Regions from separate parts of the Homo sapiens genome. Here region 2 is linked to region 1. The links are contacts of gene promoters, found by promoter capture Hi-C in blood cells and fetal thymus (Javierre and others, 2016). All regions are on one chromosome and are shown on one strand. The core of a region is centred on a gene start or on the middle of the fragment in contact, and the rest is flanking DNA. Distances in the headings are between cores, read along the strand shown. Region 1 holds the start of CRP (C-reactive protein). Region 2 has its middle 21 kb from the start of ACKR1.

The links. The method cuts DNA at HindIII sites, captures the fragments that hold promoters and counts their contacts. A CHiCAGO score of 5 or more calls a contact.
Region 2: a contact is called between a fragment that was not itself captured here and the fragment with the promoter of CRP in region 1, in 5 of 17 cell types (endothelial precursors, M0 macrophages, M2 macrophages and 2 more). The highest score is 10.9, in endothelial precursors.

The regions. Positions count from the first base shown.
Region 1 is chr1:159,712,344-159,716,213 of GRCh38, forward strand. It overlaps CRP (C-reactive protein), which reads right to left and starts at 2,246. Exons shown (of 2, transcript NM_000567.3): 1 at 2,082-2,246; 2 at 1-1,795. The coding sequence starts at 2,142. The coding sequence ends at 1,182. The HindIII fragment of the contact is 4,063 bases long and covers 1-3,146 here.
Region 2 is chr1:159,223,560-159,227,429 of GRCh38, forward strand. No RefSeq gene overlaps it. Among named protein-coding and RNA genes, the nearest start is that of ACKR1, 21 kb to the left of the region's middle. The HindIII fragment of the contact is 1,523 bases long and covers 957-2,479 here.

The DNA.
Region 1 (3,870 bases), core at 996-3,495:
TGGTTCCAGACAAGGCTGATTCAGAGACTCCACGTGGTCAAGGCTCTGTTGTTTGTCAATCCCTTGGCTCCTCCACTTCCAGTTTGGCTTCTGTCCTCACAGTCTCTCTCCATGTGGCAAACAAGATGGCTACTGGTGGTCCCAGGTTCACGTCCTCTCAGCTTGGAAATCCAGCAGCAAGAAGATGTCTCACTCCCAAAGTCCATAACTCAATCCTTGGGAAGACTGTAGTTGGTCCTGCTAGGAACACGTAACTATCCAACTATCCTCCAGATAGGGAGCTGGGGAGATGGGAGATGGGCTCCTCTGACAGGACACCCTGTGGTTCACGTCCACTCTTGTGGCCTGGGTATATTGGGAATGCGGGGATGAAGAAAGAATTCACAGCCCCACAAGGTTCGTGTGGAAAAGGGGAGGAGTTTCCCAGAAGAGCCATAAAATTAAGAAAGCACTGCAAGCAAACAAAAACCAGTCATTTAAGTTCTTGGCAGTAACAACATATTTATACCTAGTGCTTCATTTTGCTCTGGAAAAAAAGCAGATCTGCTCTGCTGGGGCAATTCTAATGGCCTTTCCAGTGTGCTTTGAGAAAGTGGAGGGACTGCGTGGTATTGCTGGGCTTCCCATTTCAGGAGACCTGGGCCCAGCAGTTCTATGACATGATGATGAGCACTCTGGACCCAAACCAGACACCTGGCCAGTGTCCTGATTCTGAGACTGAAGAGCCCTGTGAATGTGGGCAATGCCCTCCTGCTTTCTGGGGGTCATGGGTGGGGAATTAAATAGAAGATCAGCGCTTCCTTCTCAGCTCTTGCCTTATGAGTTTTTTATAACATCATTTCTCCTTTCTGGGTGTTAGTTTTCTCATCTATGTGAGGTAAGAAATTATCTCCAAGATCTGTCCAACTTGAAATAAAAATGAAAACAAAACACCTCAAATTCTGATTCTTTTGGACCGTTTCCCAGCATAGTTAACGAGCTCCCAGACCAGACACTTTACCTCCATTCTCAGGCGCTGAGGAGGGTGGAGCAGGCCTGCAATGCATATAGGGGAACAAAGGCCCAGAGACAGAGACGTGGGAACCATGCAGTGTAAAAAAGCGGGAGGTACCAGAGACAGAGACGTGGGGCCCATGCGGTGTAAAAAACCGGGAGGTACCTTCAGGACCCACAGCTGGGCCTCAGGGCCACAGCTGGGGTTTGGTGAACACTTCGCCTTGCACTTCATACTTCAGTGCCCGCCAGTTCAGGACATTAGGACTGAAGGGCCCGCCAAGATAGATGGTGTTAATCTCATCTGGTGACAGCACAAAGTCCCACATGTTCACATTTCCAATGTCTCCCACCAGGGACTGGCTTCCTTCAAAGTTCCCACCGAAGGAATCCTGCTCCTGCCCCAAGATGATGCTTGCTTCTGCCCCCACAGTGTATCCCTTCTTCAGACTCTTCCTCACCCTGGGCTTCCCATCTACCCAGAACTCCACGATCCCTGAGGCGGACTCCCAGCTTGTACAAATGTGTACTGGAGCTACTGTGACTTCAGGAACCTCGAATAATATTTCAGACCCACCCACTGTAAAACTGTATCCTATATCCTTAGACCAAAATATGAGAATCTCATTGTCTTGTCTCTTGGTGGCATACGAGAAAATACTGTACCCACGGGTCGAGGACAGTTCCGTGTAGAAGTGGAGGCACACAGTGAAGGCTTTGAGAGGCTTCGTTAACGGTGCTTTGAGGGATACATAGGAAGTATCCGACTCTTTGGGAAACACAAAAGCCTTCCTCGACATGTCTGTGAGCCAGAAAAACAAGCAAATGTGAGAGGTTTCTCAGATCACACAGATCTATCCCCTCACTTACGTATAGAATTTAAGATTGAGAAACAGACTGACCCCTTCTCCAGTTACACACCACACACACACACACACACACACACACACACACACACACCATGAAGGATGCTCCACTGTTCTGTTCATACAGTCTTTTTTTTTTTTTTTTGAGACTGTTCATGCAGTCTTAGACCCCACCCCCATACCTCAGATCAAATCTCTCCCATAGCCTGGGGTGGCCCTTACCTGTCTGGCCAAAAGCATGAGAGAGGCTGGTCAAGACCAAGAAACACAACAGCTTCTCCATGGTCACGTCCTGCTGCCAGTGATACAAGGGCCTGAATTCACTCCTTTGGAAAAGATGTATTCGGCTGAAAGTTCAGGGGCTAGAAGTCCTAGATCTCTTGCCTTAGAGCTACCTCCTCCTGCCTGGATTTATATCCAAAGCAGTAAGGGAGTTTGCGCCACTATGTAAATAATTTTCCAACATTGCTTGTTGGGGCAGGTGTCAGAGCTTCGGGAAGAGGGGAAGCAAAATTATTTCAGAACAGAGAAATCAATGTGAGTTATTTATTACAAACTCCTATGACTACTGAATTACCAATTCTTTATGACAGGAAAAATGAAGAAATCTCTCAGGGCTCCACTTTGGCTATCTATCCTGCGAAAATAATGGGAAATGGTAACATATTAAACGAGTGGCCATCTGGGTGCACGTGGTAGCTGCCTCTCCAACACCTACTTCAGCCCAAATCATAGAGTTTGACAAAGGAAATCTGACAGCTTCTGGAGATGGACATTATCACTAACCCCTTTCAATTTGCTTATTTACAGACTGGGAAATGAGGAAAACAAACATGCTCCTCCCAGAGCCATGGACACATTTTTTTATTATTATTATACTTTAAGTTTTAGGGTACATGTGCACAATGTGCAGGTTAGTTACATATGTATACATGTGCCATGCTGGTGTGCTGCACCCATTAACTCATCATTTAGCATTAGGTATATCTTCTAATGCTATCCCTCCCCCCTCCCCCCACCCCACAACAGTCCCCAGAGTGTGATGTTCCCCTTCCTGTGTCCAAGTATTCTCATTGTTCAATTCCCATCTATGAGTGAGAACACGCGGTGTTTGGTTTTTTGCATGGACACATTTTCTCAGCCAATTGAGTACACTTATTAAGAACTCTCTAGACATCTTGGCACTAAATGACGGCCCTGACAGTAAAAGTCCAGTAAAATGTGTGCCTGATCACAGACATAGCATTATATCAAAGTTTCTTCCAACATTTTTCTCTGAATATGTAAAGCTTCAGGCAGGAGTCAGGATAATCTGATTCTACTCTTTCCTCTATTCACAAGATTCAAGTAATCCCTCCACACTGTCTGTCAATCTTACTACAGTTCCCTACTTAACTCACTCTTCAAAATGACTATTATACTCCTTCTCCTTGCTCCTCAAGTCCCCAAAATCTCATTTATTCTTTCATTCAGCTGATGAACTCACCTTTCATTGAGAAGTTAGAAGCAATCAGAAAAGAACCACCGTATCCTTTGTAGTAGAGTCTTCTAGCCATTCCCTAACATCCATTCTCTACTTCTCATAAGAGAAGAATAACATTTTCAGTTGGGCGCTTGGTCATCCCCTCAAACACCAAATTTCCCAGCCCCCACTGTAGCTTGCAGTGATGATGTGATTAAATTAAGGCCAACGAGATATGAACAGAATAGGGACCATCTCTAGGTTGTGCTCTTTAAGAAAGGTATGTGCTTTCCCCTCCCACTTCCCCCTTTTTCCCTTTGACTAGTATTCAGTCATGATAGCAGGAGATGGAATAGTTCACTTTCAGGCCAGCAAGTGTAAGCTGCATGTTGAGGTTGGCATGGCAACAAGATAGATGGAGCCTGGATAATTGGGTATGGAGCCACTGCATCAGCTCTAGGCTGCCTACCTGAAAATTTACTTAAAGGAGAAATACTCTCCTCTTTTGTTAAATCACTGTTAACTCAGTCTTTCTGTTCTTAACACCTA
Region 2 (3,870 bases), core at 468-2,967, 490 kb before region 1:
TACTTCTTGTAAACTTCTTACCAGAGACATCTAACTGACTTAAATCATCACACCTCTGGCTGGCCATTCAGCCAGTCTGAGCTGTTTGTTGTTGGTGTGCTAGACATATTTCTTTTTCTTTTCTTTCCTTCTTATTTATTTATTTATTTGTTTGTTTGTTTATTTATTTTTGAGATGGAGTCTCACTCTGTCGCCCAGGCTGGAGTGCAATGGTGTGATTTTGGCTCACTGCAACCTCCACCTCCCAGGTTCAAGAGATTCTCCTGCCTCAGCCTCCCGAGTAGCTGGGACTACAGGCATGCACCACCATGCCAGGCTAATCTTTTGTATTTTTAGTAGAGATGGGGTTTCACCGTGTTGGCCAGGCTGGTCTCAAACTCTTGACCTCAGGTGATCCATCCGCCTTGGCCTCCCAAAGTGCTGGGATTACAGGCGTGAGCCACTGCACCCGGCCTGCTAGACACATTTCTATGTATCGTTCATCTGCATAGTAATTCTTGGTGCCTCATCTAGGAGGCACCTTCCTAGGAGGCATCAGAAAAGAACCCTCAGAAAAGGATGGCTCTTTGCCATACTAATAACAAGGTTAAATTGTATATAACTTTCCTGAGGGAAGAGGTCAGCTCTCTGATTTACTCCAGCTATCAAAGGAAGTCAGTGAAATACAGTAAGACAATTACTTATTGAGCATCTACTTTGTGTCAGACACTGTTGTTAGGATAAAAAATGTAAAGATGAATAAGATCTCCCCTGCTATCAAAAAGCTCACAGATATGGTGGAAACAGGTGTATAAACAGATCATTGCAACACAATGTGGTCAGCACAGTGATGGAGATATTGGTCTGCTTATTACAAGGCACAGAGTGAAGGCACTCAGCCCAGACAGAGAGGAGTGGGGGAAGACCTGCTTGTCAGAGTGGCTTCATGTCAGCAGTGATGCTGAACTAAGTCTTAAAGCTTCATAAGAACACCCTGTTGTAAATGAATGTCATCCAATTTCATTTTTATTGGAGAAATATCATTTTGGTGCAAAATGAACCCTTATTTCCGCTTACTGGGAACATGATCAGCCTTTGGGTTTAAAGGCTGGACGGGAAATTGCTAGGTAGCTGTGGTTGGCCTATGCAATCACATGTAAATAGGCTTTGGGGCAAATATCTGGTTCCCAGTAGACCAACACCCCTATTATGTAAGGAGGCTGGACTCAGTTCTTGTTGGGAGAAGTCTGAGAGGATCTCAGGGGAACACAGGAGAAAAAAAAGCTGTTAGGGTCATGAGTCCCTGAAGAAGCCATTTAAAGAGCTAGGCAGGACACTGGACCATAAGAGGTAAAGGTTGGTGGACAAGAGAGCAGGCTGCTTGGAAGCAGTGCCTACACTAGAGGATCATTCCAGCAGTGGCTTCTAGGGACAATCTTCCTAGAAGGGCAGCTGGCCAGTCAACATCTCAAGCTCTGACCATTCCTGTTCTCTAGGGACACAGTTATCACATGCAGTCCGATCTCTGCCTCAGATACGTATCAATTCTTCAGTCAATGCAATGGGTCCAGTTATATCATGGATTCTCTGATTTGACTCACTCAAGTAATGCTCCTGGACATACTAAGATTTTAGAAAATCCCTGGTCACCTAATAGGGTAGTGGAAAAATTGTTTTGAGTTCTTTTCTATCACCATCTAGTGAATAAAGAGCTAAAAAAACCTCTTCTCAGGAGCCAGACTGAAGCAACATAGAGACAGAGGGAAGTGGATACCTCTGTTACCAAAGGACAAATAGGACCTAGGCAGGTGAGCTGAGAACGGAGGTGGGCACTTCAGAGAGAGGTGAGAATGTGAGCTAGAAGAGGGAGGAAAAATATCATGGTCGAGCAGAGAATGGCAAGCAGGTCTGTATTGTCATTGCTTGAAGTGGGAGGCGGGGAGTGACAGGGGAGGCGCACAGGCAGTAGACAATGGAGAACTTTGTAGAACAAGTTAGGGAGCCTGCATTTCATCTGGTAGGCAAAGTGGACTCATATGAAAGTTCTAAGCAGAGAAATGTAATGATATAGTTTGTTTCTTAAATGTCATACATAGATCACTTTGGAGGTTCTAGAGACAAAGGACTTGGGAGAGCAAACTGGGAAGCTGCTGTAATTGGCCAGATAAGAGAGGAAGTGACCTTAACTAAAAAAGTGATGGTAGAGTTGGGGAGAAGAGGATGGATCAGAGGAATATAGAAGTAGTAAAATCAGCAGAATGTAAATCAAAGAGGGCAGAGGAAGGAGAGGATCGTCAAGGATGGTGCTTTGGGTAAAAAGGCATTTGCACAGTCTGCCACATAATGGACATTTGATAAATATTTACACAAGTACAGTTCCCTGTCGTGATGATTGCTTTTCTATTACTACTACTGAGTGTTGCTAAAATGAGAATTCTAGTTTCAGCTTACTCACTGTGTGATCTTAGGAAAGTCATACTGTCTCTTCTATAAAATGAGAAGCTTTGAGTAGATAAATTCTAAAGTCCTTCCCATCTTTGACTTTTCTGGCAAAATATTGTGGACCAATATTGGAAACATATTATAAAGCTGATGACAATGTTTTCATAGATAGAGTTACTCCAAACTTCAAACAACCAACTTAAATGAATTTTTGGAAGAACATTCTAATTTGAGGACTGCCAGTACTCTCTTACCTCATTTCCATTTTCCCCCCGCAGGTATAATTTCTTCATGAGTATAAGTCTTGCCTGTCCAAAAAAGCTTAAGAGACTATGACATATGTTTTGGGTCTCCTATAATGGTATATATGGTATAGTGCCAGGTACATTTCATCATTCAAAATTTACTTGAGTTGAATTCAATTATGTCTCTCTGCAGGGGCTTGATCCTAAATACTTCAAGTATACACTCATTCATTCTTCTCTTCAATCAGCAGATACTTATAGAGTGCATAACCAGGTGCAAACTGAATAAGACATCAACAGTTCACTCAAGGAGTGAAGAGTGTAGCAGAGTAAATAAGATGTTTATGTAGGAAGCCATAGTGTGTGCTGGGAAGTGAATGATGGTATGGACTCTTATATGGACTCTTATGGACACTATAAAGTGATGTGGCTGCTAAAAGAAGACAGTAATTACTTCCAGTGAAAAGGAAGTGAAGGAAGATGTCTCTGGGAGATATTATAATGGCTTGTGCCCCACACTGAAAGTGATGTAGCTATTAGCACTGTCTGCTGGTCATTAAGATGAAGACTTAAAGATGAATGGCTGAGCACTGGGGTGCACTCTCACTAGGAGGCAGAGTTCGGCTGGGATGAATCTCATCAGACCAGTCAATGGTGAAATTCCAGCCATTGGCTTCACAGGGAAAGCAGAGTGTATGGAGAGATCACTAGACTTGAAATTAGAATGCCTAGGTTCCATTCTCATGACCCAACTTTCTGAATTGCGCGACCTTTGACAATCAGTGCAACTTGTCTTATCCTCCAGTTGCTTCATCTGAAGGGTCACTAGAAATGACTGTTTAGCTTTGTGAAGATCAATGGATATGATAGTTGTAATTAACATTGTAGCTAATGGTCACTGAGTGCTTGCTATGGGCTGTGCAACTGTCTGAAACACTTTAATGTATTAATTCATTTAATCCTCACAATAATCCTATTAAGCAGGTACTCTTGTATCCCTTTTTCGTATAGGTAATGTTGGAGCACCAGTAACTATCCCAAGGGCATGCAGGTAAGAAGCAGTGAAGAAGGTATCAAACCCAGTCAGTCAGGCTCTTGAGCCCACACTCTCTGATCATTATGCCCTATTGCCTGTCTTCTAGCATGACACTTTGTAAACTGTAATATGATATCTAATAGGAACAATAATATTCCTCTAATGAAG